Regions from separate parts of the Homo sapiens genome. Here regions 1, 2, 3, 5 and 6 are each linked to region 4. Evidence: promoter capture Hi-C in human tissues and cell types (Jung and others, 2019). All regions are on one chromosome and are shown on one strand. Each heading gives the region's core, a stretch centred on a gene start or on the middle of the fragment in contact. The rest is flanking DNA. Distances are from core to core; before and after follow the strand shown.

What was found. The method cuts DNA at HindIII sites, captures the fragments that hold promoters and counts their contacts. A contact is called where the count stands out against the background at its distance.
Region 1: a fragment that was not itself captured here is called in contact with the fragment with the promoter of PCDH18 in region 4 in 1 of the 25 tissues and cell types used here (mesenchymal stem cells).
Region 2: a fragment that was not itself captured here is called in contact with the fragment with the promoter of PCDH18 in region 4 in 1 of the 25 tissues and cell types used here (spleen).
Region 3: a contact is called between a fragment that was not itself captured here and the fragment with the promoter of PCDH18 in region 4, in 2 of the 25 tissues and cell types used here (H1 embryonic stem cells and heart left ventricle).
Region 5: a fragment that was not itself captured here is called in contact with the fragment with the promoter of PCDH18 in region 4 in 1 of the 25 tissues and cell types used here (H1 embryonic stem cells).
Region 6: a contact is called between a fragment that was not itself captured here and the fragment with the promoter of PCDH18 in region 4, in 1 of the 25 tissues and cell types used here (IMR-90 fibroblasts).

What each region holds. Positions count from the first base shown.
Region 1 is chr4:137,319,771-137,323,784 of GRCh38, forward strand. No RefSeq gene overlaps it. Among named protein-coding and RNA genes, the nearest start is that of LINC02511, 110 kb to the left of the region's middle. The HindIII fragment of the contact is 5,837 bases long and covers 1-4,014 here.
Region 2 is chr4:137,680,851-137,684,760 of GRCh38, forward strand. The region is part of intron 2 of LOC101927414 (a long non-coding RNA gene); the gene reads right to left. Among named protein-coding and RNA genes, the nearest start is that of LINC02172, 140 kb to the left of the region's middle. The HindIII fragment of the contact is 5,413 bases long and covers 1-3,910 here.
Region 3 is chr4:137,731,546-137,735,191 of GRCh38, forward strand. LOC105377444 (a long non-coding RNA gene) reads right to left here and starts at 3,412. Exons shown (of 2, transcript XR_939236.1): 1 at 3,375-3,412. The HindIII fragment of the contact is 4,539 bases long and covers 1-3,646 here.
Region 4 is chr4:137,531,209-137,535,138 of GRCh38, forward strand. It overlaps PCDH18 (protocadherin 18), which reads right to left and starts at 1,286. Exons shown (of 4, transcript NM_019035.5): 1 at 1-1,286. The coding sequence starts at 880. RefSeq lists an enhancer at 1,195-1,314. The HindIII fragment of the contact is 2,929 bases long and covers 198-3,126 here.
Region 5 is chr4:137,367,337-137,371,385 of GRCh38, forward strand. No RefSeq gene overlaps it. Among named protein-coding and RNA genes, the nearest start is that of LINC02511, 160 kb to the left of the region's middle. The HindIII fragment of the contact is 4,770 bases long and covers 1-3,950 here.
Region 6 is chr4:137,348,654-137,352,660 of GRCh38, forward strand. No RefSeq gene overlaps it. Among named protein-coding and RNA genes, the nearest start is that of LINC02511, 140 kb to the left of the region's middle. RefSeq lists an enhancer at 2,266-2,767. The HindIII fragment of the contact is 5,891 bases long and covers 1-4,007 here.

The sequences.
Region 1 (4,014 bases), core at 298-2,797, 210 kb before region 4:
AATGGCCAATTCAACAAGATGAAATAACCATTCTAAATGTGTATGAAATTGGTTGCAAAATATGCGAAGTAAAAATTGACCCAACTGAAAGGAAATATAACCAAATCAAAAATAGTAGTTGGCGATTTTAACATTCCTTTCTCAGTAATAAACAGAACTTCTGGTCAGAAAATCAGCAAGGATATAGAAGAATGAATAAGTGCAATCTAATGAACATTTACAGAACACTATGATCAACAACAGCAGGATATACAGACTTTTTGTATTAGTCTGTTCTCAGGCTGCTAATAAAGATATACCCAAGTCTGGGTAACTTATAAAGGAAAGAGGTTTAATTGACTCACAGTTCCAGACGGCTGGGGAGGCATCACAATCATTGCCGAATGTGAATGAGGAGCAAAGTCATCTATTACATGGCAGCAGGCAAGAGAGCTTGTGTAGGGAAACTCCTATTTATAATATTATCAGATCTCATAAGACTTATTCACGACCAAGAGAACAGTATGGAGGAAACCACCCCTGTAATTCAATTATCTCCACCTGACCCCACCCTTGACATGTGGGGATTATTACAATTCAATTTGAGATTTGGATGGGGACACAGCCAAACCATATCATTCTGCCCCTGGCCCCTCCCAAGTCCCATGTCCTCACATTTGAAACCCAATCATGCCTTCCTGACAGTCCCTCAATGTCTTAATTCATTCCAGCATTAACTCAAAAGTCCAAGTCTAAAGTTTCATCTGAGACAAGTCCTTTCCACCTATGAGCCTGTAAAATAAAAAATAAGTTAGTTACTTCCTAGATACAATGGGAGTACAGGTATTGGGTGAATACACCCTTTCCAAATGGGAGAAATTGGCCAAAATGAAGAGGTTACAGGCCACATGCAAGTCTGAAATCCAGCAGGGCAGTCAAATCTTAAAGCTCCAAAATGATCTCCTTTGACTCCATGTCTCACATCCAGGTTATTTTACCCAGGTAATGATGTTGCCAAAGGTGGGTTCCCATGGCCTTGGGCAGCTCCGCTCCTGTGGCTTTACAGGGTATATCCCCATACCTGGCTGTTTTCATGGGCTGGCATTGAGTGTATGAGGCTTTTCCAAGCACACGGTACAAACTGTCCATGATTCTGCCATTCTGGACTCTGCAGGATCATAGCCCTCTTCTCACAGCTCCACTAGACAGTGTCCCAGTGGGGACTCTGTGTTGGGGTTTCAACCCCACATTTCTCTTCCACGCTGCCCTAGCAGGGACCCACCCCTGCAGCAAACTTCTGCCTGGACACACAGGCATTTCCATACATCCTCTGACATCTATGGAGGTTCACAAACCTCAATTCTTGACTTCTGTTTACCCGCAGGCTCAACATCATGTGGAAGCTGCCAGGGTTTGGGGCTTGCATCCTCTGGAGCCACAGCCTGAGCTGTACCTTCGTCCCTTTTAGCTATGACTGAAGCATCTGGGACCTGGGCACTAAGTCCCCAGGCTACACACAGCAGGGAGCGCTGGGCTCGGCCCACAAAACCAATTTTTCCTCTTAGGCCTCTGGCTTGTGATATGAGGGGCTGCTGTGAAGGTCTCTGACATGCCCTGGAGACATTTTCCCGATTGGCTTGGTGATTAACATTCAGCTCCTCATTACTTATGCAAATTTCCACAGACAGCTTGAATTACTCCCCAGAAAATTTTTTTTTCTACTGCATCATCAGGCTGAAAATTTCCCAAACTTCTATGCTCTACCTCCTCTTGAACATGTTGCCACTTAGAAATTTCTTTCACCAGATACATTAAATCATCTCTCTCAAGTTCAAAGTTTCACAGATCTCTAGGGCAGGGGCAAAATGCCACCAGTCTGTGCTAAAACATAGCAAGAGTCACCTTTGCTCCAGTTCCCAACAAGTTCTTCATCTCCATCTGAGACCACCTCACCCTGGACCTTATTATTCATATCGCTATCAGCATTTTGTTCAAAGCCACTTAACAAGTCTCTAGGAAGTTCCAAACTTTCCCACATCCTCCTGTCTTCTTCTGAGCCCTCCAAACTGTTCCAACCTCTGCCTGTTACCCAGTTCCAAAGTCGCTTCCACATTTTCAGGTATCTTTACAGCAGTGCCTCACTACCTGATACCAATTTACTGGATTATTAGTGTAAACTGTATTAGACAATTAGTCTGTTCTCACACTGCCAATAAAGACCTATTCAAGGCTGGGTCATTTATAAAGGAAAGAGGCTTAATTGACTCACAGTTCCACATGGCTGGGGAGGTCTCACAACCATGGCAGAAGGCAAATGAGGAGCAAAGTCACCCATTACACGGTGGCAGGCAAGAGAGCTTGTGTAGGGGATCTCCCATTTATAAAACCATCAGGTCTCATGAGATTTATTCACTACCACGAGAACAATATGGGGAAAACCACCCCCATGAGTCAATTATCTCCACCTGGCCCTGCCTTTGACACATGTGGATTATTACAATTCAAGGTGAGATTTGGGTGGATACACAATCAAACCATATCACTTTTTAGATGTACACGTAATGTTCAACAAGGCAGGCTCTTTTGTGGGGGGGGAGGGTAATAAAACACACTTCAATAAATTTTAAAAAATGTAAATGATACTAATTGTTTTCTTTGAGCATAATTGAATTAAATAAGACAAATACAGAAAGAGGACAGGAAAATCTTCAAGTGTTTGGAAATTAAACAGCACATTTCTAAAGAATTTGCGGGTCAGAAAACAAGTCTCAAGAGAAAGTAGAAAATACTCAGAACTAAATGAAAGCAATATCAAAATATGTGGCTATAGCCAGTCTTAGAGAAAAAGCACTAGAACAGTGCTAAAGCAACAAAGTAGCTAAAGCAATGCTCAGAGGGAAATTTATAGATGCTCGGAACAGCAGAAAAATCTCAAAGCTAAATTTCTACCACAAGAAACCAAAGAAGAAGAAGAAGAAGAAGAAGAAGAAGAAGAAATAGAAAAAAATAAAAATGAACCCAAACAAACAGAAGGAAGGAAATAACTAAAGACAGGAGCAGAAAATCAGTGAAACTGAAAACAGGACATTAGCCTGTGCCTATAGTAAGATAATGTGAGAAGATAGTGAATCAGTGAAAGAATGAAAAAGAGTCATCAGAGAGGAAAAGAAAAATAAATTATCTCATTTGAATTTTAGGGAGAAATGTCAACAGGAATGGGCTAGACAGTAATATCAACACCACAAAGGTCAAGCAGGAGAATTAGGAGCATTGGTTAAACTGTAACAATGGGGGAGTTCGTTCCTGACTTTTAATGTAATAATAAAGTCAAGGTAGTATAGAAGTGTAATTTCAATTATCTCACTGCTAAAACATAAAGATATGGAAATAATTTTGTAACCACTCTTAAAGACAGTATGGGAGCTTGATCAGGTATCACAATTAAAGAAAAAAGCTTTAATATATTTTACAACTGCTTATGTTTGAAGATCTTACCAAAGAGCCACTGAGGAATAAATAGAAAATGACCAATTGTGAGGTGATAGATATGTGAATTATCCCGATTTGATCATTATACATTGTATACATGTATCAAAATATCACACTGTATCCATAAATATGTATGTACAATTATGTGTCAATTAAAATAATAAAAAAGTGTGAAGTTTTGAGGGCCAAGAAAAAAAGAAAATGAGTAATTATAAGATGAAAGAATGGAAGAAGTGATCAATGGAATAGTTCAGAAGGAATGCTGGATGAGATGAAGAATAGACTGGAAGAGGTGCCATTGTTGGGGAGGAGAGGAGGACGTTAAATTGGAAAAAGAATGACGGTGTATCCTTGGAAATTAGAAATCATGGACAAATCATGGAAAATGTTCAGAGAAATTTTGAAAGATATGGATAGTAACATTTTTAAAGTTTTAATTAACTTGTTTTATTATTTGTAAATTTGGAGGCAGTTAACTCACTCTAATAATGAGACAGAATGGCTGTAGGGTCTTCAGAAAAGTGAAAAACCTGCAATTAAGAAATG
Region 2 (3,910 bases), core at 851-3,350, 150 kb after region 4:
TGCACCCATCTTATACTCTTTGTGTTTAAAGGACTAGATCATAGGTTGTCTATGAAGGGAAATGCTAATATCATGTTTGCTAAGGTTTACACCAGCCAAAGTGCATTGAATTCTAATCTTAGAGTCAATTAGAAGCACAATTATCACATCTCCCCTTCTTTCTTCCCACAGAAATATCTTCATTACCAACACAGTGCTTGGCCAGCAGGGCAGTGGTTAAGACTAAACACCCAACCCTCAAAATCCCAGGTTATATTTAAGCACATTTTCATGTATTAAAATGAAACAGTCTATCCTGGGATTGGCTCAGAAGCAAGTTAATTCTTGTTAATGGATTTTTTGTTGTTGTTGTTCTAGAGGAAAATCCCCTTAAAAGCTCCCCTGGTGTGGCTTTCTATTGGAGCTGGCCTGAAGACAGAAATTTCCTAGAATGAGAAGGTTTTTTGCACTAGGGAAATGTTTAAACATAGCCATTGATTCTGCTGGCCAAATACATAACAGAGATCAACATTGCAAGAAGTACTGGAGCTTAATAATATCGAACACTTTCCCATACTGAGGGTTATTCATACTAAATATTAGTCTGGAAGTCTATTCTGATGCTGTCCCTATCCACTCTTAACTCTCCACATTTCCTCCTCATACATGTAATTTTTTCCAGGTGTACAACAAAAGCCCCTTTCCTTCAACAAACAGCCTGCAGATAATTGTGTTTTTCCTCATGTACAGAGGAAAAAGGGCATACATACAACACAGCACAAAATAGATCCAAATACATAGCCTCATAGAAAAACTAGAAAAATAATACCTGTGGAAGTTTACTCAAGCACCAACCTTTCTCTCTTTTTGCTTTCTAAGAAGGATCATCCACTGTCAATGGTAACTCTGAGACTCTTAGGATGAAGCTTGGCTAGCTAAGTTTCTACCACCATCCCTACCCAACCAATTGTGAGTGAAGAATTTATTAACCTGAATAACGATGGTCCACTATACTAGTGTACACTCAAAACTGTTTATGATGACTCCAGTGAAACTAAAATTTTAACATAGGCAGGTAGATACAACATGCATTTGCTCTCCAGCCTGGGAGAGGTGGGGTGGAATGTTTTATATGGATGCTATATGTCTATTTCATGTTATTTTTTAAGGTTCACTCATAAATCATTTTCAGAGACACATGCACATATATAGACATACACACTGAATTCTTCATTCACAAGATTCATATGAAATTTTATTCTATAATAAAGCTACTTCTCTTATACTACTACTGGCATTTTACCTCTATGTTTCTCATCCATCAATGCTATGAAAATTATATAATGAGATATACCCTACTGTTGCCTAAAGCATATGTGCAAATTAATCATTTTCATTTTTGTACATAGAGAGAATATAGAGAATTCAAGATCAACTGGAAAAAGGTACTTTCAAGTGGAGGTTCTATTTGACCCCAATAATAACATTAATTTTTTCATGTGTTGCCAACAATGTGATCCCTTAGCCTCTTAAATTATATGAATCATGTCGCATTATTAACATTATTTCAAAATCAATGTAATTTAATGCCATGTAATTTGTATATTTGTGAGTTAAGAGGTGCAGGGCATCCATTTCTCCTTTACTAGATTAAAAAAGTGGGAGAGGATTACACCAATAACTGTTTGATTTGTTCAATCATAGGGTAAAAGTAAATCAGAATGAAGTGATGAAGATCAGCAGTACACAGATTGGATAATTCAGTAATTCTAATGCAGATATCTTTTATCAAAGGTAGTCTTTTCTTTTATTTTTTCAGAATGTAAGCATAAATATTGTCTGCTTTGCAATGAGATGCAATGATAGCATAGAGTTGCCAAGAGGCTCGAGCTGTTCTGTCCTCATCGACATGAATGGGTCTTGCCTGAATGTTTAGAGGAAGAGATAAGATGCAAGCAACTGTTTTCCCCCTGGTACCCTTGACTTACAACTACAGCTATTCCAAAAGTTTTTGTTTTTCCTTTAGGCTATGAGAAGTTTAAGTCTCTGTTTGAAATATATTACAAATAGGAAACAGAACACTTTATAACAAAAAATGTGGAGGAGAGTAGTAGAGGTGAAAAAATAAAAAAAGGTTTCCTACAGTTCTTGGTTGCCCTATTAATATGCTTATTGATCACATTGAGGGTCTTCTAAGAATGGACAGCTTTGAAAATAGCTATAACAACTGTACAAGTCACTCCATCTATCAATATTTGACTTCTGCATAATAAACCATTCATTGGCATTTGACAGATATTTATGATTTTCAAGTGAAGCACTGTTGTTTATTTTGATTTTGATTTATAATTTGAAATAATCTTCCCAGAAGAATATTAAATATTGTGCTTGACACATTAGTTGAAGTTGTGTCATCATCTATTACTAAAATATACCGACATAAAATATTAGATGGTTTTCTGTCAGCCTAAAATATTTCTGACAGTGAATCTTAAATAGATCATTAATGTTCATACTTCTGTTGCATGCTGAAAGATTCAGCTGATGATTGAAGGGCCTTTTCAACTTTCAGAGTTGTACTGAGTTTTACAGATCATAGAATAACATAGCTGGAGCAATCTTAGTTATTCTTTAGTTTTAGAACAGCTAAAAGTTTAAAGAGGTTAAGTGATTGTTAACAACCTACAGGTGAAATTTGTATTAAGTAAAATAGCCCTTTAGTTATAAAAACTAAATAAAAATTCAACATATCAGAAAATATGCAGAAAACGTTTCTAGTCTTGTGCATGGTATTATGTCTGATCCTTTCAAATGGGTTAGTACTTTAGATATTGAAGAAATTAGAGAAGCATGTTTTATCACAACGCCAGAATGTGGTATCATTAGGTGGTTCAAACACTTTTAAACTCTATTCCTAGGACAGGTTAGTACCATTTGGATAACTAATGTTTGATTCTGTCAATAGTGAAAAGTCAGTGAAATGTTCTAATAAAGTTTTTTTTTTAAATTTTATTTATTTTTTTGAGACAGAGTTTTGCTCTGTCGCCCAGGCTGGAGTGTGGTAGTGCAATTTGGGCTCACTGCAGCCTCCACATCCCGGGCTCAAGTGATTCTCCTGCCTCATCCTCCCAGAGTAGCTGGGATTACAGGCATGAGCCACCACACCCAGCTAATTTTTGTATTTTTAGGAGGGACAGGGTTTTCGCCAGGCTGGTCTCGAACTCCTAACCTCAAGCGATCCGCCCGCCCTAGCCTCCCACAGTGCTGTGATTACAGGCATGAGCCACCATGCCTGGCCCTAATAAAGTTTAGATAGTTGGATTTTGATAAATATTCATTCATCCAGTTTAACAAAATGTCATACAAACAGTATGCATATTAATATGTTTTGTTATGATGATGAAACTGTGCAAATGGAAAAAGCCCATACCACACAAATGGGAATTCATTTGCCTTCCAGCAATTTATTTTCACTTCCCGGCCTCCAAATTAATAGTAACTATAATAAAATGTGTTTGGAAAGGAGGTTTGATCATTATATTTCTCCTTTTCCAGACTATGCAAACTAATAAATCATAATTAACACTAGGGATATTTTAAGCAGGATCCATTTTACCATTATTTTTATAATATATAATTGCAGCTACAAATGTATGCTCCTGAATAGCTACTTAAATTTTTTTTTCAGAGAAACACATTTGTTTAAAATTGTAAAAATTTATAAGAGAGGGAGATTAGGGAACTTCTAACCTTTATAAACATACTCTTCATTCTTACTCACATGGTTCATTTCTTAAATATGGTAAACATTCTACTTTCAAAACAGCACATAATTTCTCCTTACCTATCCATAATGTCATTTAGTTGATCAGAAGATGCATTTTATTATCATTTTGTCACTAACTTAAAGAGTTGATGCATATTCCTACAC
Region 3 (3,646 bases), core at 917-3,416, 200 kb after region 4:
ATTGTGTATCTGTTACAGGTTTTTGTTTTGTGGTTGCCATGAGGCTTGCAAAAAATATATTATAACAAATTACTTCAAACAGATGATAACTTAACTCTGATTATAAAGAAAGGAAAACAAGCAAAGAAGCAAAGAGAACACTAAAAAAAGTCTACTCTTTAATTCCATTCACCCTTCTTTTTGACGTTTGATCGTTTCTATATGTATCTTTTCATACTCTCTATATCTTAAAAAGTTGTAATTATTATTTTTGATAGGTTTGCCTTTTATTTATTTACTTTTTTTACTAAAGATATAAGTGGTTTGTTTACACACCACAATTACAGTGTTAGGATAGTCTGTCTTTTTTGTATACTTACTACTACCAGGGAGATTTCTATATTCAGATGATTTCTTTTTGTTAATTAGCATCATTTTCTTTCTGATTGAAGAACTCCCTTTAGCATTTTTTATAAGACAGGTCTGGTGTTGAAATCCCTCAGCTTTTATTTGTCTGGGAAAGCCTATTTCTCCTTCATGTTTTAAGGATCATTTTGCTGGACATAATGTTCTAGGTTGGATTTTATTTCCCCTGCACTCTTAATATGTCATCCCACTCTCTCTTCACCTGTAAAGTTTCCACTGATAAGACTACTACCAGACATATGGGAGCTCTTCTATATGGCATTTCCTTATTTTCTTTTAAAGCTTTTAGTGTCCATTCTTTATCCTTGACCTTTGACGGTTTTATTATTTTATGGCTTGAGGTGGTTTTATCTCGGTTGAACCTGCTTGATGTTCTATAAACTTACAGGACACAAATATTCATCTCTCTCTCTAGGCTTGGAAAGTTCTCTGTTATTATTTCTTTGAATAAATTTTCTACTTTGATCTCTCTCTCACTCTCTCCAATTTCTATAAAGCCAATCACTCTTAGATTTTCCCCTTTGAGGCTTTTTTTCTAGATCTTGTAGTTGTGTGTCTTTATTTTTTTTTCTTTTCTGTCTGTGTATTTTCATATAGCCTGTCTTCAAGTTTGCTATTTCTTTATGCTTAGTCAATTCTGCTTTTAGGAGACTGATGTATTTTTCAGTTTGTCAATTGAATTTTTAGTTCCAGAATTTCTGCTTGATTTTTAAAAATTATTATTCCAGTCTTTTTGTTGTGTTTCTCTGATAGAATTCTAAATTCTCTGTGTTATTTTCAAGTTCACTGACCTTCCTATAGACAGCTATTTTGAATTCTCTGTCTGAAAGGTCACATATCTCTAACACTCTAAGATTGGTCACTGGTGCTTTTATTTGGAGATGTCATGTTTCCTTTCAAATTCTTTTTTGTTTTGTTTTTTGAAACGGAATCTCACTCTGTCGCCCAGGCTGGAGTGCAGTGGCGTGATCTCGGCTCACTGCAAGCTCCGCCTCCTGGGTTCACGCCATTCTCCTGCCTCAGCCTCGCGAGTAGCTGGGACTACAGGTGCCCGCCACCACGCCCGGCTAATTTTTTTTGTATTTTTAGTAGAGATGGGGTTTCACCGTGTTAGCCAGGATGGTCTCCATCTCCTGACCTCGTGATCCGCCCGTCTCGGCCTCCCAAAGTGCTGGGATTACAGGCGTGAGCCACCGCGCCCGGCCTCCTTTCATATTCTTAATGCTTGTGGACATTTGTCAAGGTCTAGGCATTGAAGAGATAGGTATTTATTTTGATCTTGAGAGTCTGGGCTTGTTTGTACTGGTCCTTGAAAAGGCTTTCCATGTGTTTAGAAGGGGTTGAGTGCTGTGATCTAAGCCCGTGGTCATTGCATCCATATCAGCACTAGGGGGCTCCCTAAGCTCAGGAATGCTGCACCCTTAAGGGACTCCTAGAGGGAGCGGCAGGCTTGAGTAAGATAAGAAAGAAAATTCGTGAAGCCTTCCGTATTTTTTGGAAACCATCATCCTCAGCAAACTAACACAGGAACAGAAAACCAAACATCGCATGTTCTCACTCATAAGTGGGAGTTGAACAATGAGAACACATGGACACAGGGAGGTGAACATTATGAGAGCTGCTGGCAGTCCTCACAGCCCTCGCTCGCTCTCGGCGCCTCCTCTGCCTGGGCTCCCACTTTGGCGGCACTTGAGGAGCCCTTCAGCCCGCCGATGCACAGTGGGAGCCCCTTTCTGGGCTGGCCAAGGCCGGAGCCCACTCCCTTAGCTTGCAGGAAGGTGTGAAGGGAGAGGCGCCAGCGGGAGCCAGGGCTGCGCGCGGCGCTTGCCGGCCAGCTGGAGTTCTGGGTGGGCGTGAGCTTGGCGGCCCCGCACTCGAAGCAGCTGGTCCGCCCTGCAGGCCCTGGGCAATAAGGGGCTTAGCATCCGGGCCAGCGGCTGCGGAGGGTGTACTGGGTCTCCCAGCAGTGCCAGCCCGCCGGCGCTGCGCTCGATTTCTCACCGGGCCTTAGCTGCCTTCCCGTGGGGCAGGGCTCCGGACCTGCAGCCCGCCATGCCTAAGCCTCCCACCCCCTCCATGGGCTCCTATGCGGCGGGAGCCTCCCCAACCAGTGCCACCCCCTGCTCCACGGCACCGAGTCCCATTGACCACCCGAGGGCTGAGAAGTGCCGGTGCACGGCACAGGACTGGCAGGCAGCTCCACCTGCGGCCCCAGTGCGGGATCCACTAGGTGAAGCCAGCTGGGCTCCTGAGTCTGGTGGGGACGTGGAGAACCTTTATGTCTAGCTCAGGGATTGTAAATACACCAATCGGCACTCTATATCTAGCTCAAGGTTTGTAAACCCACCAATCAGCACCCTGTGTCTAGCTCAGGGTTTGTGAGTGCACCAATCGACACTCTGTATCTAGCTACTCTGGTGGGGCCTTGGAGAACCTTTGTGTCCATACTCTGTATCTAACTAATCTGGTGGGGATGTGGAGAACCTTTGTGTCTAGCTCAGGGATTGTAAACGCACCAATCAGCGCCCTGTCAAAACAGACCACGCGGCTCTACCAATCAGCAGGACATGGGTGGGGCCAGATAAGAGAATAAAAGCAGGCTGCCGGAGCCAGCAGTGGCAACCCGCTTGGGTCCCCTTCCACCCTGTGGAAGCTTTGTTCTTTCGCTCTTTGCAATAAATCTTGCTACTGCTCACTCTTTGACTCCACACTGCTTTCATGAGCTGTAACACTCACTGCGAAGATCTGCAGCTTCACTCCTGAAGCTAGAGAGCCCACAAGCCCACCGGGAGGAATGAACAACTCCAGATGCACTACCTTAAGAGCTCTAACACTCACCGCCAAGGTCTGCAACTTCACTCCTGAGCCAACGAGACCACGAACCCACCAGAAGGAAGAAACTCCAAACACATCTGAACATCAGAAGGAACAAACTCCAGGTGCGTCACCTTAAGAGCTGTAACACTCACCACGAGGATCCACGGCTTCATTCTTGAAGTCGGTGAGACCAAGAACCCACCAATTCCAGACGTAATTACACAGCGGGGCCTGTCGGGGAGTCGGGGAAAAGGGAAGGGAGAGCATTATAACAAAAACCTAACACATGCCGGGTTTAAAACCTAGATGACGGGTGGATAGGTGTAGCAAACCACCACCGCACATGTATACCTATGTAACAAACTTGCACGTTCAGCACATATATCCCAGAACTTAAAGTAATTTTTTTTAAAAGAAAGAATTC
Region 4 (3,930 bases), core at 36-2,535:
TAATTTTGGGAGACACATGACTGCTGAAGGAATATACAATTTTCCCATTAGCGCCCTCATCTGGATCCGTGGCATTCAGATCTAAGAGCAAAGTGCCAACCGGGGAGTTTTCTAAGAGTTGTATTATATAAGATTGCTGCTCAAAAGCAGGGCTGTTGTCATTGGAGTCTGAAATGCTTATTTTTAGTATGGATGAGCCAGACCTCTGAGGTACTCCCATGTCTGAGGCAGTGAGCTGAAGCTCGTAGCTTGACTTCAGCTCCCGATCTAACTCTCTGACCACTATGAGTTCTGCATACTTGGCTCCATCAGTCCTGGTCCGAACCTCGATATTAAAAAAATCATTGGCAGAGAGCGAGTATGTGTGGAGGGAATTTTCCCCAACATCTGGATCAAATGCACTGTCCAGGGGAATGCGAGTCCCAACTGCTGCACTCTCAGATATCTCAATAGGTATGAGAGATCTTGAAAACTGGGGAGAATTGTCATTAATATCCAGCACTTCAACTTCAATATGGAAAAGCTGCAGATGCTCTGTGGGTAGAGTGATCACATCAAACTCTATGGAACAGTTCAAGTTTTTCTGGCACAGTTGTTCACGGTCAATTGTAGCCCCTATGCTGATTTCCCCATTATCCTCGTTTACTACAAGTAGAGGAGAATTTCCCCTCTGCATGGCTCGAAATCGAACAGTAGAAGGATTAGGAAGCTTCAATAAAACATCAGCCACATCCTCTGATAGTCTTGCAATTACTGATCCAACCCTCTGTTCCTCATAAATCCTGTATTTCAAATTCTTGCCCAGTACATCGTGGTTGAAAGATACTATCAGAAGTGCAAAAACAAACCTAAAGTGCATTTTAGCATTCATTTGGTGCATTGGTCAGTTTATGAGATTTCCCTCACAGAGCAAGTTAAAACAGCAAAGCAATTGCCTCAACTTCCTTTGGCAACGTAAAGCTACATTTGGTACTTGAAACTTGAAAGCGTCTCTTAATAACACAGCACAGCAATTAACAGCTCGCAAACTTTTGTTTTATACACACCGTGTCACGACTTCCAGATACCTTCGGCATGGAGTCCAGTCCTTGCGTTTGTTTGGTCGTTCGTCCTCTTTCCAGGCAGGAGAGTGTCACCTCCGCGTTTTCTCCCTTGTGTAGTCGGAATCCATCTATTGCAGGGTGCCGGTGGAGTCTGCAGTGTGTCTTTCCTGAGCGATTCTTTCTCCCTTTAGCTGCTCGGCTGCAGACTAAACACCCGTGATTGCTGACTCCAGTCTAAAATCTGTACAACTTCACTTCAACTCAGACAAAGCTCTTGCCCAGCGTGTGTTGAATCGCTTCCAGCCAATCAGCGTGCTTCCAAATCAAAAGCTGATGGAGTCACCCAAGGAGGGAGGGCGAGAGTGGAGGGTGGGAGAGAGAAAGAGACGGAGAAGGAGGAAGGCGGGGGTGGGTGCGCGAGGGAGAGAAGGGGAGATGGGCTGGTGGGGGCTGGGGGAGGAGATGGGAGCCAGTCCTTCCCTGTTCCTTCCTTCTTCCTCCCCACTCCCCCTCCGCCTTTCAATCTACTGCATTCACTTTCTCTGAGCGTGCCATGACAAAGGGGAGACAAATTACAGAAGAAAAACTTTAAATCAACTTCTGGTCGCCTTTATTTATATGGCACGTTAAATTCTTCTTGTTTTCTTAATTGCCCTTTCTTCTGCCACAGACATGTAATCATCTTGCTTTTCATAGTCCTTAAGTGCTAGTTTAACTTAAAATACCTCTAAGTGCGTTTTGTTGGTGGAGGAATTTAATACAATTTGAAAACTTGCTTCTAATTATGCTTCTCAGACCACCTCCTTCCCCACTCCCTCTGTAAATACTTGGGCCTTTCTCCTTCCAGGAGCACAAGCAGATTTTCTTGGGGCTCTGTTTTTAAAGAACGGAGCAAGTAAAGAGGTTTCATTTTCTGTTTTCTTTCATCTTTATTCTTTGAAGATAAAAAAAGGGCTATCTTGCACTCTTCATTTCTCTTAATTAGCAAGACTTAAGGGAACACCTCAGAATTTGGAACTAATTAACAATATAGTTCTACCTTGTATGATTTCTTTCCTTGAGTTTGGGCAAAATTGTTTGTAATATTTCTTTGTCCTGTACTTCAAAAAAATCCTATTTATCTTGGGTAAAAGACACTGCAAGCTTTAGCATGCCAATTTCTACCAAAAGGCACTATCTATACATGGCTAGTCTTTGCAGTGAATACAGGGGGGACATGGACTCAATAGTTTACAAGTCAAATTTTTATAATATATGCATTATTTATGAAAACACTTCAGATATGTATTTTAAAAACCCCAAAGGTTGTTTACACTGACAAATCAAATGCCTGAGCTGAAAATTGCATTTTGTATGCATCAAAATGCTAGGAAATATCATGGGAGGCTTGTGCTCTATCCAGGTCACAGAAACTGATACGGTATTCTTATTTGAAAATATGATTATTTATGATGTTCTTTCTGCTCTGCAATTCCTTTTAAGTTTATCATCGTGGCTCCATTTTTGCTGCTTTTTTTCATACCTTTTTCCTTATTCCTCAGCTGTCTTCATCCGCTTGCATATTTGCTGTTTCACAGAATGTCATTGTCACTTTTTTCCATTTATTTTTTCTCACTGTCTATTTTGCCCCCCAGAAACATATAAAAAAAGTAATTTTCTGATTTTTCCACTTTGCTTACTCTCAGCAGAGCTCAGCTAAAGTCACTAAGAAGGCTCTTTCCAAAAAAGAAAGCAGAGGAGTCTCAGCGTGAATTCTCCTTCTTTTTAGGCATTCAAAAGCATTTTATAAGCCATTGTCTTTTTTTCCCCCTCCTGAAATCAGTGCTGTGTGGCAAATTGTGCAGAATAGAAATGCCTATAATGAATGTATTTAGTACTGGGTCACGCTGATGAACATTCTGCCCCCATGAATAATACTGTTTTACAAGTTTGTAGCCCTTTCAAATTGCTGATCCCCAAACCCTATAGGCAAACTAGGAAAACTACCACAAGCAAGGGGGACTTTAGAAACCCATAGCCATCTGGCCTAGATCTCTAACAATCTGAGCCAATAATTATATCAATTCAGGCTTTAGCGAACCCCTTTGCAAACACCAAAAGAGCAAAGAAAGGAATTAGTGACTATTCAAAGTTGGGGTGAGAATTCAAAGGTAACCTAATTCCATTAGTTCTAGGAAAATTTTCTTTCAGAATTTGATAAGTCTACCCCCCAAAAAACTTCAAGAGCAATCGATTTGATTACCTTGATACGGATTTTTTTTATGCTTAAAAAGTAAAAATAATAAAAAGCTCTTTTATTTCTGACAGTGGGCTTGAACAGAAATAATCATTGTGAAAAAGAGCTTCACTGTAACTTACTGAAATATTAAATAACTTGTAAAATAATATATCCTCCAAAATGATATGTTTCTATGAGTAAGTATTTAAAGAACTTGGCATTCTTTCACCAACAGTGGCTTTTTTCACTTGCAATATCATCCTTACCACATATTATTTCCTTTTCAGCTTCCCAATCTCTTCCTGAGAAGTCACATGTATCTACTCAAAAGTGATGTGCTTTCGATTTATCCTTGTTATGCACTGATCTGTTCTTTATGTTTTTTTCCCCAAAAGTACAGAATTAAAAATAAATCTTTTCTTTGTAATATTGTATCACTAGTTCTAACAATTTAAATTTTCCTCATTTGGTATCCCTGAAAAGATAACATAAAACTATCTCCCAAACTATTTACTATCCATGAAAGGGTTTATATCAGGGGAGAAAAACTGATAAACTTCTATTAGCTGTTATCTAATGATGACCTGGTTGAACTTCATCCTTCTGGAATTTGATGAAGTCATGAAAAAGGGGTAGACCCTCTAAAACAACTTCAGATAACCAGTAAGG
Region 5 (4,049 bases), core at 316-2,815, 160 kb before region 4:
ATTACTCCTAAGTACTCTATCAATATCAAAAATTATGTCACAAATATGTATTATAAATTCTTGCTAAATATTTCTAGCTTACATTATGTATTGTAGGTCCTCAGGCTAGGTTCAGAATTCCTAGTATATGGTCACATGGGCTTTCAATACGTTTTTCAGGACATAACCATGGCTGCCCATCCAGTGTCCATTTTTTTCTTTTTCCTTGCTGTTAAGGCTTTGATACTCCTGAATGTGGAATTGTACCCCATTAAAACCATGTGACTCAATTTTGGCCAAAGTGAGGTAAAAATAATGCTGCAAATCAGGACTTTTGCAAAAGGTATTGCTTTACCAATCAGAAGAACATGCTTATGCTTGTTTCCTCTCCGTTTAAGCAGATACTATTGTGGCACTCATATTTCTAGCATGATTCAAAATGCTTTATACTTATAAACAAATGTAATTCTTACAAATGACTCATGAGATAGTTACCATTATTAACCACTATTTAGTAATTTTGAAATTGAAACAGAGAGATCCTGGTAACTTATGCAACCTTAGCCCTTTGGCTGCATCCTCCCTCCTATGTGGAATAAGATGCAATATGTGCAGATGGAACAGCCATTATGTGAATATGAGCAGAAAATCCACATGCTTAAGACGGCAAAGCAGAAAGAGGAAACACTCTGGATTGTTACTGTTGTTCTGGTTCTCTATACCATGGACATCACCCTGGATTTGATATTTGCTCAGAAGTCATTTCTTAATTTTAGCATCTCTTTTTCTATATCTAAATAAGCAGGAAATGAGAAAGTATTTTTTTTAATTCAGTAAATACTAGTTCATGTGTACCTAACAATCTGTTTAGCATAACTTGTTCCTTTCTTATTTTACTATAGACAGGAAGAAGCAAGCAGCATCTTCAAAACTTCCCTGGGAAACATCTGAGATAAGTGGTGGTCTAGATCATTAAACAGATATCCTATTTTTCATGTTACTACAAGTGACAAAGTTTCTAAACTTTCTAATACCACATAACAAGTGTACCCTTTCCTCCGGCCACCAGTATCTACTTTTCTCAAATCTCTCATTGATAGTTTTTTTGAGAGCCATCGGGCTTCATTAATAATCTCTTACTTTTTGGCTTTTATTACCTCTTCTTTCAAGATTTGTCAAGCTTCCTTTTGTCCGCTTGCCACTTGTTTGCAAAGCCATACACACAAATACATAAAATTAAATGTTTTATATAAAACACATAAAATTAAATGTTTTTTATATATGTTAAATATATATATTTGCCAGAATCCCACTTACAGATATCAAAGTCTGCTCAAACAAACCCAAAACTTAGTGACTTGAATGACAACATTAATTTTACTCACAAATCTGCAGTTTGGCCAGGGTTCATCAGAGAGAGTTCATTTCTGCTTCACTCAGTGTCAGTCAGGGAAATTTGAAAACAGTGTTAGAATCACTTGAAAACTCATTCGGGAAAATAATAGAGGTTGATGGTAACTATTGGCTGAGTCTTCAGCTTGTTCTGGGGTTGGGGCTGGAAATCCTACACATGGCCAATCCATGTGGCTGCTTGGATTCTGTACCGAAGGACAGCTGTTTTCTAAGATCAAGCCTCCTAAAAGGATCAGACAAAAGCTTTCTTTCCTTTATAATTTAGACATGGAAGTTACATAGTGTTACTTTTGTAATAGTTGAACCCCACCTTATTCAAGAGGAAACAGCATAAGCTCTACCTCTCAATTATGGAAAGAACATTTAAGATAGAATATATTGGTATATCCATCTTTGGAAATTAGAATCTGTCACAACAAAACTTTTTTAATATGAGAAAACAAATCCCTAGTTGATTAAGCCATTACAGTCAAACTCATAACATGCATATATTTTGTTATGGATATATATGTTTTGGTTTTCATGTTTAATGTCTCCCCTACTAGACTGTAAATCTCACAAGGGCAGAAATTATTTCCATTGTAGGCCGGGCTCAGTGGCTCACACCTATAATCCCAGCACTTTGGCAGGCCGAGGCTGGCAGATCACTTGAGGCCAGGAGTTCAAGACCAGCCTGACCAATATGGTGAAACTGCTTCTCTACTAAAAATACAAAAAATTAGCCGGGCATGGTGGTGCATGCCTGTAATCCCAGTTACTCAGGAGGCTGAGGCAGGGGAATTGTTTCAACCCAGGAGGTGAAAGTTGCAGTGAGCAGAGATCGAGCCACCGCACTCCAGCCTGGGTGATAGAGCAAGACACTGTCTCAAAAAAAAATAATAATAAAAGAAAGAAAGAATTTCCTTCTTGTTCACATTGGCTCTTAATAAAAAGTTTTGTAAATGAATACATGGATAAACACTGAGGCAAAACAAAGGCTGAGAGCTTTGGGAGTTAAAGTTCTTTGACCACGGTCAACTATGAAGCTCCATGTTGTGTTACATTCTGACGCACAGTTGCCTTGGCACACAGCCTCATGGATCTGATTTGCTTCTGAGGCTTAAAGGTGGCTTGGTTTATAAATTGCTCAGGAATTATAAGTAAGTGTGTGTTTGTGCGTGTGTGTGTGTGTATGTTTGTGTCGAGGAACAAAAGCAAAGACTATAAAAACAGAGAGCAACCAACAAAATGAATTCAGTTCCTTGGCAATAACTTTCTAAGACATTTTATTGGTAACCTCAATCTGCTCTACAATTTCCTAATGAAACAAATTTTATGTAACCCTGAACTTGTGCACCAAGACGAAATGAAAGAGGTAAGAATGGTTTTAAGTCATAAAACATAAAACATAAAAATGTTTTAATTTTTCATGAGAGACCAGGAATAGCAAGGTCGTGTGAGAATATCTAAAATAATCTATCCTGAAAGCATAAGAAACCCCAAAACATAGCAGTAATGTCATTAGTCATATTATGTTCAGTAGAAATAAGACAAACTGTTGCTACTATTGTTAGATGTATTGTTTAAAGTAGTATTGCCAGAATGTCATACATTGGATTGCATAATATTTACACTCACATTTCTTCCAAAGCATACATTCAATAATTTTTTTAAAGTGTCTCAGAGAAAAAAAATGAAACATTTTTTCACCTATGACACGTGCAATTACTTCACCGTCTAAGGAATGCATGTTGTAAATACTGGATTTATAGCAACACCTCAGATAATTACACAGTTTACGGGGTACTAAGCAGGAAAAGAATTGCTGACTGTCCACACAATGTCCTCTTTTATTCACTACTAGTCTCAGAAGAATGTGACCATATAGGTTAACTATGTTTATGTTGTTCTCAAGGAGAAGAGAGTTAAAAGGCAATATTCTTTTTAACAAGCTGAACCAACTTGTTGGAAAGAAATAAAACCTTATAAAAATTGGAACAAATATCTTCAAACCAATATGTTATTTGAAACACTATTTTACATGGTACATTCATTTTTGTCTCACCCTCACATAACTCTGCAAATAGCTATTCAATTCAAACTGTCTCAAGGGTAAAAGTATAAAGCTCAATGTTTCTGTTGGATTTAGTGGAGCTCATAGAGCGTCTGGATTTGTTGGTCATGGCATTCCCTCTTAAACCCTCAAGTGTCTGTTTGAGCCAGTTTATACCAGAACAATTCAACAATTCAGGGTTTCCTTTTGTGTGTAGAAACATGTGTTTACACGGCTTCAGTCTGAATGAATAAGAACATGTTATTATTTACTGAAAAAAAATGACAAGATGATATATAGCTTTTGTACCTAGTAATCTTTATTCTACTCATATATTTTAATACTTTAATAAGTTGTAGGATATGGCCTAAATCTCTTTGCTTTAAACTACTTCTAAAAGTAAATACTCATTCAGAAAACATATTTCAAGAGCAATATTTTCACATTTTTTAAAAACACAATTTGTTATTTATACCTAAAGTTTAGTCCTATAGTTAATACTTTGTTGTCCACTTAAATTTGTTAAGAGAATAGATCTCATGTCAAGTGTTCTTACTGCACATACCTACACACAACAGAGCAAAGGGTTACAAAGAAAATTTTGTGGTAATAGTTTTACCTAGAT
Region 6 (4,007 bases), core at 312-2,811, 180 kb before region 4:
GGTTCCAATAAAAAAGTTTCTAATCATACAGAGATGAAATTATACAAAAATAAATAAATCTGAAGGTTTATATCACTAAGAAATGGAGGCAGATTTTTAAAACTCCAGAATCTCAACAAGAGAATTATTTTGACTAGTTTAAGGATTCAAAGCTTAGCTGTTGAAGCATTCCTTTACTTCCTTATACCTTCTTATCACAAATGAAACTGAGGCAGGAATCTCTACAATGAAAACAATAAAACGTCAATACAAGAGATTGAAGAGGACACAAAATTGGAAAGGTATTCCCATGCCCATGGATTGGAAAAAATGATCATGTTAAAATAACCATACTACTCAAAAAAATCCACAGATTTAATGTAATCTCTATCAAAATACCAATGACGTTTTTCACCGAAATAGAAAAAAAAAATCCTAAAATTTGTATATCCCTACCAAAAAAAAAAAAAAAACAAATAAAGCAATTCTGAACAAAATAACAAAGCTGACATCATCATACTATCTGACTTCAAAATATACTACCAAGCTATAGTAACCAAGTCAGCAAGGTATTCCCTTAAAAATAGACACATAGACATATGGAACAGAAAAAAAGAATCCAGAAATAAATCTCTGCATTTACAGTCAACTCATTTTCAACAAAGTTCCCAAGAACATACACTGGAGAAAGGACAGTCTTTCCAATAAAGTATGCTGGGGAAACTGGATATCCATATGCAACATAATAAAACTAGACTCCTATCTCTCAATAGATACAAAAACCAAATCAAAACAGATTAAAGACCTAAATGTAAGACCTGAAGCTATAAAACTTCTGGAAGATAGCATTGGGGAAATGCTTTAGGACATTGGCCTGGGAAAAAAATTAGGGATTATGACCTCAAAAGCACAGGCAACAAAATCAAAACTAGACAGATGAGATTACATTAAGCTAAAAAACAACTTCTGCACAGAAAAGGAAAGAATGTGCAGAGTGAAAGGATAACCTATAAAATGGGGCAAAATATTTTCAAATTGTCCATCTGACACAGATTAATAACCAGAATATAAAAGGAACTCAACTCAAGAGCAGATAATATAATAATAATCTGATTTTTTCTAACAATCTGGATAGATATTTCTCAAAAGGAGACATATGAATGACCTATGGGTATATGAAAAATGCTCAACATCACAAATCATTAGAAAAATGAAAATTAAAATCACAATGAGAATCACCTCACAATCTGTTAGCATGGCTATATAAAAAAGACTAAAGAGGCTGGGCAGGCATGGTGGCTCTCGTCTGTAATCCCAGCATGCTAGGACGCTGGAAGCGGTGGGGGGAACACCTGAGGTCAGGAGTTCGAGACCAGCCTGGCTAACATGGTGAAACCCCATTTCTACTAAAAATACAAAAAATTAGCCAGAAGTGGAGGTGTGCACCTGTAATCTCAGCTACTCAGAAGGTTGAGGCAGGAGAATCGCTTGAACTAGCAGGCAGAAGTTGCAGTGAGCTAAGATAGTGCCATTGCACTCCAGCTTGGGCAACAAGAGCGAAACTCCATTTAGAAAAAAAAAAAAAGACTAAAGATAACAAGTGTAGTCACGGATGTAGAGAAAAAGGAACACTTTTACACTATTTATTGGAATGTCAATTAGTACAACCATTATGGAAAACACTATGGAGGTTCCTCAAAAAACTAAAAATAGAATTACCATATGATCCAGCAATACCACTTCTGGTTTTTACCCAAATGATTTGAAATCAGTTTCTCAAAGATATGTCTGTAGTCACATGTTCTTTCGAGCACTATTCACAATAATTAGTAAATGGAATCTACCAGAGTGGATGTCAACAAATGAATGGATAAAGAAAATGCAGTGTATGTGCACAATGGAATAGTATTCGGCTATAAATACAAAAAATAAAATAAAATTCGCAGATCTGGCAAGATGGCCAAATAGGAACACTTCTGGTCTGCAGCTCCAAGTGAGACCAATGCAGAAGGTGGGTGATTTCTGCATTTCCAACTGAGATACCCAGTTTATGTCACTGGGACTGGTTAGACAGTGTGTGCAGCCCACGGAGGGCAAGCAGAAGCAGGGTGGGGTGTTGCCTCACCCAGGAAGTGCAAGGGGCCAGGGACCTCCCTCCCTTAGCCAAGGGAAGCCATGAGGGACTGTGCTATCTGACTCAGATACTATACTTTTCCCACAGTTTTTGCAACCTGTAGACCAGAAGATTTCCTTGTGTGCTGTACCACCACAGCCCTGGGTTTCAAGCACAAGACTGGACGGCTGTTTGGGCAGACACAGAGCTGACTGCAGGAGTTTGTTTTTTTTTTTTTTTTTTTTTCATACCCTAGTGGTGCCTGGAACCCCAGCAAGACAGAACCATTCATTCCCCTGGAAAGGGGGCTGAAGCCAGGGAGCCACGGGGTCTTGTTCAGTGAGTCCTACACCCACAGAGCCCAGCAAGCTAAGATCCACTGGCTTGAAATTCTTGCTGCCAGCACAGCAGTCTGAAGTTGACGTGGGACACTGGAGCTTGGCGCAGGGAGGGGTGTCCAACATTACTGAGGCTTGAGTAGGCAGTTTTCCCCTCACAGTGTAAACAAAGCCCCTGGGAAGTTTGGACTGGGTGGAGCCCACTGCAGCATGGCAAAGCCGCTGTAGTCAGGCTGCCTCTCTAGATTCCTCCTCTCTGGGCAGGGTATCTCTAAAAGAAAGGCAGCAGCACCAGCCAGGGGCTTATAGATAAAACTCTCATCTCCCTGGGACAGAGCACCTGGGGGAAAGAATGGCTGTTGGTGCAGCTTCAGCAGACTTAAACGTTCCTGCCTGCTGGCTCTGAAGAGAGTAGCAGATCTCCCAGCACAGAGCTCAAGCTCTGCCAAGGGACAGACTGCCACCTCAAGTGGCTCCATGATCCCAGTGCCTCCTGACTGGGAGATACCTCCCAACAGAGGTCGACAGACATCTCATACAGGAGAGCTCTAGCTAGCATCAGGGTGGTGCCCCTCTGGGATGAAGCTTCCAGAGGAAGGAGCAGGCAGCAATACTTGCTGTTCTGCAGCCTCTGCTGGTAATGCCCAGGCAAAAAGAGTCTGGAGTGGACCTCCGGCAAACTCCTGCAGACTTTCAGAAAAGAGGCCTAACTGTTAGAAGGAAAACTAACAAACAGAAAGCAATAACATCAACGTCAACAAAAAGGATGCCCACGCAAAAACCCCATCCAAAGGTCATCAGCGTCAAAGATCAAAAGTAGATAAATCCATGAAGATGAGGCAAAACCAGTGCAGAAATGCTGAAAAATCCAAAACCTAGAATACCTCTTCTCCTCCAAAGGATCACAACTCTTTGCCAGCAAGGGCACAAAACTGGACAGAGAATGAGTTTGATGAATTGACAGAAGAAGGTGGGTAATAACAAACTACTACAAGCCAAAGAGCATGTTCTAACCCAATGCAAGGAAGCTAAGAACCTGATAAAAGGTTACAGGAACTGCTAACTAGAATAACCAATTTAGAGAGAAACATAAATGACCTGACGGAGCTGAAAAACACAGCAAAAGAACTTTGTGAAGCATACACAAGTATCAATAGCCGAATCATTCAAACGGAAGAAAGGATATATGAGATTAAAGATCAACTTAATGAAATAAACCATGAAGACAAGATTAGAAAAAAATAAAAGGAACAAACAAAGCCTCCAAGAAATAAGAGACTATGTGAAAAGATAAAATCTACAATCGACTGGTGTTCCTGAAGTAATGGAGAGAATGGAACCAAGTTGGAAAACAGACTTCAGGAAATTATCCAGGAGAACTTCCCCAAAATAGCAAGATAGGCCAACACTCAAATTCAGGAAATACAGAGAATACCACAAAGATACTCCTCAGGAAGAGCAACCCCAAGACACGTAATTGTCAGATTCACCAAGGTTGAAACAAAGGAAAAAATGTTAAGAGTAGCCAGAGAGACAGGTCAGATTACCTACAAAGAGAAGTCCATCAAGCTAATAGT